Regions from separate parts of the Homo sapiens genome. Here region 1 is linked to region 2. The links are contacts of gene promoters, found by promoter capture Hi-C in human tissues and cell types (Jung and others, 2019). All regions are on one chromosome and are shown on one strand. Each heading gives the region's core, a stretch centred on a gene start or on the middle of the fragment in contact. The rest is flanking DNA. Distances are from core to core; before and after follow the strand shown.

Region 1 (5,267 bases), core at 2,456-4,955, 250 kb before region 2:
GAATTGATGGGGCACAGCTTGGGGGTTTAAAAGTATGAAGTAACTAAGAAAGTTAAAGCAATGCTTCCAGAAACTTCTCTCACCTTCTCAGGTGAACAACGAGTGCGCATTCACACAGATGCCTCTAAGCAGCTGCACAGGGGCCAGAAGAAGAGGCTCAGACCATTGTTCTCCCCTCACCTCCAGGTCAAGCGACATACATGGCTAGGAGAAAGAGCACTGAGAAGAGCTGACCCTTAGGAAAACTTGGCTTTAAAATCAGGAATGTCCGCTTGTTATTGCCACAGTCTGACTAGGGAATCTCAGGAGGTGGCAGGGTTTGGGTTCATTTTAGAACAACATGTAGAAAGAATTGACGGGCCACCCACAACCTTATCTGAACCTGTAATGTCTACAAAATTGGGCAACAAAGTTTAAAGAAAGAGCTTTTTCCTTACAGGTTTTTGGTGCCAAGACCCCTTCTGGTCCAATTGTAACTAAGTAAATATAGAAGCCAAGAAAAATTAAATGGAATTTTTGGAACTTGATCCTGGATGTGCTGCAAGCTGAGGACAGAAATATTTGGACTGTTGAAAGTGGGGTGTCGGCTTGTTTACTTTAGGGTCCTTCCCATCCTACAGAACTCTGGCCAGTGTTAGAGTCAGACTGGCTTCGAGGCTCCTTGGAAAGATCAAAGTTCAGCGTGATCTGTCCAAATACTTCTCCTTTTACAATGTATCATATGGAGAAAATTAGGTGACAGCCCCCTTTTAAGACAGAACCGCTTCAAAAACTCCATGTACCAGAAAAACTGGTTAGAAAAGTGGAATTTGAAACCATGTCAAAGAAACAGATGCACAAGTACTGATAAGGTAAGAGTGTGGGCAGTCTCGAGGGCTGCCGCAGAGGGCAAAAGAAAAGCAGTAAGCAGGGAGCTGGGCCTGCTTCTGCCTGCGGCCCGAGCAGCTCAGCTTTCACGCCTCATAAACTGGGATGTGAAAAAGCTTCAGTTTAGAGAAAAAGGTCCTGATAGATGAGCTGGCTTAAATAGGTGATAGATAGAGAGATAGATAGATAGATAGATAGATAGATAGATAGATAGATAGATAGAATAGAGATCGATGATAGATTAAATAGATGATTGATAGATAACAGAATAGATATAGATCGATGATAGATTAAATAGATAGATAATAGATAGATGATGATAGATCGATAGAAGATAGATAGATAGATAGATAGATAGATAGATAGATAGATAGACAGACAGATAGAAAGAATGAAGGTTGGAAGGTAAACCAAGACAGAGAGAGATAGGCAAAACATATACAACATGAGAAATCCTGGTGGGGTAGAAAGAATGCTGCCTTGGGAGTTAGGAGAAATGACTTCTGGCCTAGGCTGCCACTAGTTCTGATGTGATCATAACCTGTAAGTCTCTCTCTTTTTTTTTAAGTGCTCTCTAAGGACCTTTAACTCCAACATTAGTTGGCTCTCTGATTGCAAGGAAGCTCTACAAGATGCCTACAGTTGCCTTTAATGATCTTGGAACTTACTCTATAGTCTCCTCTTCATGGGAAAATGGAGTTTTATGGAGAGATCAACCTGGGAACTGTTAGATCCTCTCTATGCTTGGAAGATCCTTGTAACCCATCACAGAGAGCAATTCAGAGAAGAAAATTTGCACACTCTACTCCAAAGAGGACTACCCTGTGCCCTGGGTCATTATAATCACCCCCAAAATGAGAATAATAAAAGCATGTTGTTATTGAGAACTCATAATGGGTCAGATATGGAGCCCAGCATTTTATACATATTAACCCGTTTAATTTCCACAACAGTCCTATGAAATTGGAACTAATATCAATCTCATTTTACAGGTTAGGAAACTAAGGCTCAAAGAGGTTAAGGGACTTGTCCAAAATCATGTTGCTGCTAATAGCAGAAGCCGACTTCAACGTCAGTGCTTTTAACCACTATGCTGTTAAAAATGGAGACCAATATGAAGACCCTGTTGAGATCTGAAGACCCATCAGAGTAAAAGTAGTGAACTGCATTGTCTAGCACACAGTAGCTACTCAATAAAAACAGGAATCTAGAGGGATGCCTCAGAGAGAATTCAGAATAGGCTGGCCACACACTGAGTTATTAAGGAGCAGTGGCTTTTAGGGACAGAGGAGGAACATACTGAATAGCTCTCCAAAGCAATGATGAAACCAGGTCAATGACTACTGGCAGAGTGAGAGAAAGATAAACAAGCAGGTCCCAATAGACAGGCTGAGGGGCGCATGTCACAAGGGGAACTGCCAGAAATCCATACCACGTTCCAAGAGTCTGTCTGCATTGCTTAATGGTTCTAGGACTATGTGAATGGATCTCATATACTGCTGAATTCCTGGTATAAAGCTTTAAAAGGGTCAGTTCTGGGTCAAGTGAGCTGAGAGAAAGCTCTGCCTCCAACTTCTGAGGTCAGTTCTCCTTCATATTTGTGCCTGTTCCTCATGGAAGGGAAGAAGGAAAGAGATACCCGCTGACATTTCAATATTTTCCCCTAGAACATTTGACTAAGTCTTCCCCAGATTCCTCTTCCCTATGGACCTGTAGCCTTTGTATTCTAGCCCAGTATCTCCAGAATCCTAACCTTTCCTTCCACTCCTTTGTCCACATGGCTTGTTTCTTTTGAAAAACCTTCACATCTCCCTAAACAAGAATGGTTGCCCGCCAGCAACAAGGAAGCGTTGCTGTCCCTCAAAAAGGGTCTGGAAAGGCTGGTCTATGGGACAGAAAGAAAATCTGTCCTGTGATGAAGACATGTGAGGGCAGACACCAACCAAGAGCCAAGGGCAGGCACACTGCCTCCCATGAGGAGGGAGGGGAGGGAGGAAAAAGGAAAGGAAGGGAGGGAGGGAGGGAGGGAGAAAGGGCAGGAAAGGAAGGAGGAAGGGAGGAAAGACACAGGGAGAGAGGAAAGGAGGGAGGGAGGTAGGGAAGGAAGGGACTTCCCTTCCCTGGGGAGGATTACCTTGATGGATAGTTACATCTGATATGAGGATTTGGAGACCTCAGACCATACTCAGGGCCTGCCAGTAGCCTTTGAAAAGTTTTTCTATAGAATGAGTCAATAATACATTCTATTAATGACCTTGATGGATATTTACATCTGATATGAGGATTTGGAGACCTCAGACCATACTCAGGGCCTGCCAGTAGCCTTTGAAAAGTTTTTCTTATAAAATGAGTCAATAATACATTCTATTAATGACCTTGATGGACATTCTGTGCTGTTTTGTTTTTTCAGCCCTAAGTCCCTTAAAAATGTTCTGCTGAGTGGTCCTGATATCCATCCCACTTTATCTCTCTCCACTCCCAAGGGGGATCCTCTACCCCAGTGAAGTCACCTTGTCTGATCTTATTACTGTCTTATCTCACTGTCTTTTGTTAGAATTATGTATCAGTCTGTCTCTCAAACTACAATATAAACCTAAAGACTAATGTACTAGATTTCCTATTTGTCCCTCCAGGTCCACTTTCCACCTTCTCCATCCTGCCCTTGGGAGGATGAACTCTTCCGTTCCCCACCAACCCACCTTGGGTCCCTTGCACCTGTGGCTGCTGGTGGGTGTGACCAATGGGAGGTGCAGATGAAAGATTGGAGGATGATAAGAGAGTCCAGGTATTTATTCCCTCCTGCCAGGCTGTGCTTTAAGCAGTGGTTGTGTTCTTCTACTAAATGCCATAGCTCCTATCCGATGTCCCCTCTCCAACAGCCACAGTGCAGATCTGGTAGCCACTCCTTCCCTGTGCCCGTTCAGGCTGAGAGATGTAAGGATTTCCCCGTTGTTAATCCCTGCATACTGCACCATCCCTTCCTGGTTCTCAGACTTAACCCACAGCTTTGTAAAGTGTCCACTCATTAAATCCCCTGTCATGTATTTATTCATTATGGATTATTCACTTAGTGTGAAGCTGACACCGTGCTAGGCACACGCCAGTTTCATGGTGGACATGAGCCCTGTGTCACTTCTCCCTCCTTCCTGCTAGGGCCCTGGAACCCCAGCCCCAGCCCTAGAGAGGCGCCTCCTACCCAATTCTTTTCCCTTTGCTAATTCTACTGAAGGTGATTGATATATCTTTGGGTTTAGGCTTAGAAATCTCTCTTACAATGTAAATATGGCTTGTAGAAGAAGTACATTCTTATCTTGCTCATTATGGAAGTGAATGAGCTTATCAAACTTGTTGGAAAGAGCGGGTAAATATAGCATATTTTGAGAGCCTGCCATTTACTTGCCATTATTGAAGTGTTACTGCTTCTGTGAATCCCTCAAGACAGTGCAGTAGATGTTGCTTTAGGTTCTGAAGAGGGAGGGGAAGCTTGGTCATGGCAGTACTAAGGAGGGCGCTGAGGGTGATGAGTGCAGGGCTGTGCAGACAGGAGAGTAAGTGGAGGGGATTGTGCCCAAAGATAGGGAAAGACCCTGAAAGGAAACTGGATTCATTCACATATTTGTGCAGGGCTGGTCTGGCCCACCCACTTCCTTCCTCCTCCTCCTCCTCCCTGCCTGCCATTACTTCTCTACATGAACCACTACTTCCTCCTCTTCTTTTCCTGCTGTTTTTACTCATATATGTACAGTTCAGGTTACACAGGAAGCCCATGCTCACTATTGCCTAAAAAAAGATGCCAGGTACCTCTTATGTAACATCCAAACACCAGAGGCTCTGGGAAAAAATTAAGGAATCTGAGAAAGTAATTCCATAAGAGCCCTGATATTTCTAGCTCTGCCTGGAATGAGTGAATGTCATGTGGATGGAACCCTAAGAGGTAGGATATCTCCATGTTATGTGCTCATGGAGGGCTACTGTGATCACAAATTGGGACAGCCTCTCCTTTCTCCAGTGTTTAGATTAGAGCCAGTAAGAATCAGATCACAGAGATCATGCCTATGAGTATGGAGTATGGGGCTTAAGGACTCTAGAGGAGCCCCTGCCACCATGACATGATTCTCTGAGGCCCCTGGGCCTCATTGCCACCAGGGATGGGGGATAAGCAAGGGTATGTCAGTTCGCTGATCACAGGTACAGTGCTGTACTCTTGATAGTGGGATTTGTGGCAGAGGCTGCTAGTTGCCTACTGCAGTTTCTCTCTATTCTCATCATGGCAGCTGGAGAAATCACAATATTTCCCAGCCTCCACTAAGCTCTGGCCAATGTGCTATAAGCAGAAGCAACATGTGGTGCTTCCGGGAAATCTCTTTATAAGTCAGTTGTCAGATGCCATTTTTCCCCTC
Region 2 (4,506 bases), core at 232-2,731:
ACCTCTCCACGCCCTTGGAGAGGTCCCTTGTTTCCCACGTAGCGCCTCTCCCGGCCCTTCCTTCCCCTCATTCCTTCCCTCACCTAGCAGACACCGGCATGCAAACCTGGAGGGTGTGTGCCCCCTCCGCCCTCACCCCTCCCGTGGTCCCTAGCCCATTGTGTCTGAAGTAGCTGAAGTGTTCCCCTTCAGGAATGAACCCACAGCAGTGGCTGATTCGGCCGAACCCTTCAACAGGTGTGGTGTTTACACAAGCCTCTGAGGAGACAATCAGGAATGGAAAGAAGTCAGGAATGGAAAGTCCTTCAAATTCCTTGATTCTGAGCAGGTTTCAGCTGTTAGCTAGCCTTTCCCATGGATGTTTAAAGCTATCTGTGGCCGGGCGCGGGGGCTCACACCTGTAATCCCAGCACTTTGGGAGGCTGAGGCGGGCAGATCACCTTAGGTCGGGAGTTTGAGACCAACCTGACCAACATGGGGAAACCCCGTCTCTACTAAAAATACAAAATTAACCAGGAGTGGTGGTGCATGCCTGTAATCCCAGCTACTCGGGAGTCTGAGGCAGGAGAATCGCTTGAACCCGGGAGGTGGAGGTCGCGGTGAGCTGAGATCGCAACATTGTACTCCAGCCTGGGCAACAAGAGTGAAACTCCATCTCAAAAAATAAAATAAAGCTATTTGCCAGCCTTCCCCATGGATGTTTAAGGGACCAGATGGAACAGCATCTATGCTATTCCCAAATCCTATCCATAAAGTCGGTAGTGGAAGGTGCACTCTCAGCGCACATTCAACTTTCATCTGTCCCAGGTTTCTGAGCAACTCAAGGCACACCAGAGTGGAACTGACCGCCCACACATCAAGAGAAAAGGGATGGGCTTCTAGATCTAATTCCCAAAACTCAGAAGGGCTTTTTGCAGCATCTGGGTAAAATAGTAGCTGTCACCGTGTCCTCCCTCCTGCCCCTGCCCCTTGTTTCCCACTCCCCCTCCACTCCCAGTACCTTCGGGTCCTCTGAGATCTTTCTCCCTCTATTCTTTTCCTGCAGAGTGATCCCAGAGCTGCTCACCTCCTGCCTGGCCGGATTCCATCTACTCAAAGTTTGTAGAATGTGTCCGAGCAGAAACTATTACCCTGATTATCTCTTTGCTCTCTGCCTCTATCTTAGCCTAGGAAACCCGCAAAGGGGAAAAAAAAAAAAAAAAATCTGAGTTGTTAAACTAGAGGAACTGTTTCCTAGGGAATTTTTTTCTCATAGCCAACTGTATTCCATTACCAGGATTTCTCTCCTCTTCTATCCCACCCCTCCCAACGCCCCGCTCTCCCCAGACGATTTAAATCCGGAGGCCCCAGCGCTCTGGGCTCCTGGCGCCTCACTTACCCTAGTGCCAAGGCGTTGGCCGTGAACTTGGTGCTGCTTCCCGCGCGCAAGAGGGCAGCAGGCGAGCTCCTCAGTGCTGGGGGAGACCTTGGACAGCTATCCCGCCCTCGCACTCTGAGCAGTTGTTATAAAGGCGGCCCTCGCCGGAGGGAGGGAACGAGCGAGGGGTGAGCAGAGGGACAAGGAGGGGGAGGGTCGAGGGAGAGGACACGCCTATTCCAGTTCCACGGCACTTCATGCTGTTATGAAAATAAAGTCCCCGTGCCAGGGAATGACCCAAAAACCGTCTGACGTCAGAGGCACAGTCACCCCTGGAAGCTGGGCGGGGGTGACCACCCGGCCCTGCCCAGCGCATCGGACTCCTCCGAGACGTGCTCACGCGCTGGTCCCAGGGCGCCGGCTACGAGAGGGGAGCCGGAGCAGACCAGCTCCTTACGGGCCCCGCCAGCTGTCACCTCCCGGGGGAGCCACACCCGCCTCCCCGCAGGCACTCGGGTCCACCCGGGGCAAGGGCCCAGCCCGCGAGATTGCAGCAGCTCCGCCGTCAAGTCCAGCGGGACAAGCCAGCCTTCCTCCACTTTCTTTGACCTTAGCTTAGCCTTTCTCTCCATCACTCTCCCCCAGCCACTGCCGTATGGGAAGCCAGGCTTCAGAAAAAGGAGGCAGCCACCTTCTCAGGGCTCCCCAGCCAAAGCCACGTGAAAGCCAAGGAAAACTTCCCCCACCAGGTCCGTAGTTAGCTCAGCAGCTCCACCTGTCAGAGTCTAGACAGGCACCATTAGTGCTGCCCTGGGGCTGAGAGATCAGTATCTCTCCTTTCCTAACTGCCTCTCCTAAAGCCTCGACAATGCAGGCTGATTGAACGGGGGCGCCAGATGAAATTATGAAATGAAGGAATTTGCTTTGGTGCCTGGTTTCCCCTCCCTCCACTGCCCACTCCTCTTCCAGGATCAAGCCAATCGGACCGAAACTCGTCTTTGTTTACGTGTGGAACGATCCTGGAGTGGCTGCCCGCCTGTGTCGGGGCTCAAGCCAGGTTCTACCCCATGCCACGGGGAGGCAGGAGGGACTCTGTTTTTAAAGTGGTTATCAGCGCGCTTGGTAAACTAATCTGGATTATTCTGCATATGAAGAAATGGGGGAAGGCCCAGGGCTCCCCAGCTTTCTCTTCACTTCTCCCCACACCCCAAGTCTCCAGAGCCTAAAGTGCTTTTAAAATGTGACCTACTGGAGACTGTGACCCCACCATTGTTAGGTTTTTATTTCACTCCCAAAAAACCACAGGCAGTGCCTTGAGTGTTGGAACACTTTGAGGTATGCAGCCCAGGGGTCTGTGAGTCCACCCATTTCACACCTAAGACTCCCAGGGGTGTGTGTGGCAGAGTGGGGGTGGGTACTGAGAGACTGGTGGGACTGCAAATGACAGTGCTTTATAGTGTGTGCCATCCGCTAAGTCAGGGCTTCTCTCCGGACCCCAGCGTTCTCGTCTGTTCAAGAAGTTGAACTAGACTACCATTGTACAATAGAACTATAATTCAAGCCACAAACATAAGCCACATTTGTTTTTTATTTTTTGTGTGTTTTTTCTTTTTTAGACAAGGTCTCGCCGTCACCCAGGCTGGAGTACAATGGCACAATCGGCTCACTGCAGCCTCAATCACCCAGGCTCAAGCTATCCTTCCACCTCAGCCTCCCAAGCACCCAGGACCACATGTGTGCATTACCACACCTGGCTAATTTTTTTGTTTGTTTCTTGTTTGAGACACTCTCACTTTGTCACCCAGGCTGGGGTGCAGTGATACCATCATGGCTCACTGTAAGCCTTTACCTCCCAGGCTCAAGCAGTCTTCCCGCCTCAGCCTCCCAAGTAATTCTTTTTATTATTTATAGAGACAAGGTCTCGCTGTGTTGCACATGCTGGTCTCAAACTCCTGGGTTCATGCCATCCTCCAGCCTTGGCCTTCCAAAGTGCTAGGATTACAGGTGGGAGCCACCACACCTGGCCCACATATGTCATGTTAAATTTCTAGCCACATTAAAAGAAGTACAAAGAAACAGGAAAATTAATTTTAATAACACTGTATATTTTTTACCCAAATATGATCCCAAATATGATCATTTCAACATGTAATCAATATTTTTAAAAATATTAAGGGGCTATTTTACTTCTTTGGTTTCCAACTATATCCTCAAAAACCCAGTGTGTCTTTTATATTTAAAGCACCTGTCAGTGTGGACCAGCCACATTTCCATTGCTCAAAAAGTGTGTGTGGCTTGTGGCTACCACACTGGATAGTGAGGACTAGTTGTCCCTGGTGGCTCTTCCAGCACGGAGTCTGAATCACCATGTCTAGGGTGAGTTTCATGACATCGAGCAAAAGACGTCAAGTCTGAGGATGGTGAAAGAACAAAGATGATGTGGTTTTGGGGATCCTACCCTATCTCTACACCCCCTCCCCAGGACCACATTCCCATTAGGTCCTCCTAATGAGAATGTGATGAGTGTATTTGATCTTTCCTTTGTTCACTGTTCTCTGGATGGTATCTGTCTGGCAGGTCCAGGGTGTGTGAGACAGAGAGCATGTGTGGGGATGCTTGTTCTGAACCTGTCTTCAGTCATTGCTCTTCACTTTGCTATTGGCTTTGTTTGTTGTTGTTGTTATTCTTAGAGACAGTGTTTCACTATGTTGCCCAGGCTGGAGTGCAATGGCTATTCACAGGCCACCATAGCTCACTACAGCCTCCAACTCCTGGGCTCAAGCCATCCTCCTGCCTCAGCCTCCTGAGTAGTGCCATTGACTTTGGATGTCCCACCTTGTCCTCTTAGTACTCTCTTTTCTACTCTCCTCTTAACCTCTTGGTCTCCTCCTATCCCTTTATGGAGACACCTGCCTGCACAAAGCCAGGACTAGATGAGGCCAATGAGGCAACCAGAGCACAGATTTCAAGGAGGCACTCCACAACTTTAAGAGTGAGTGCCCCTTTAAATCCTGAGCTCTAGTCCCCTTGCTTGCCTCTCCCAGTCCCGGCCCTGCACCTGTGTCCCTGGGGGCTGGCTCTCTGGAAGAAGACAGGGAGGACTAGGGCAGGTGGAATAGCTGAGTGATTCTGGGGTATCTGAGTGATTT

What was found. The method cuts DNA at HindIII sites, captures the fragments that hold promoters and counts their contacts. A contact is called where the count stands out against the background at its distance.
Region 1: a contact is called between a fragment that was not itself captured here and the fragment with the promoter of GPRC5A in region 2, in 1 of the 25 tissues and cell types used here (pancreas).

The regions. Positions count from the first base shown.
Region 1 is chr12:13,143,749-13,149,015 of GRCh38, reverse strand. LOC124902882 (a long non-coding RNA gene) reads left to right here. Exons shown (of 2, transcript XR_007063215.1): 1 at 1-851; 2 at 1,436-1,754. Among named protein-coding and RNA genes, the nearest start is that of GSG1, 43 kb to the right of the region's middle. The HindIII fragment of the contact is 4,042 bases long and covers 1,685-5,267 here.
Region 2 is chr12:12,888,537-12,893,042 of GRCh38, reverse strand. GPRC5A (G protein-coupled receptor class C group 5 member A) reads right to left here and starts at 1,481. Exons shown (of 4, transcript NM_003979.4): 1 at 1,379-1,481. The HindIII fragment of the contact is 16,829 bases long and covers 1-4,506 here.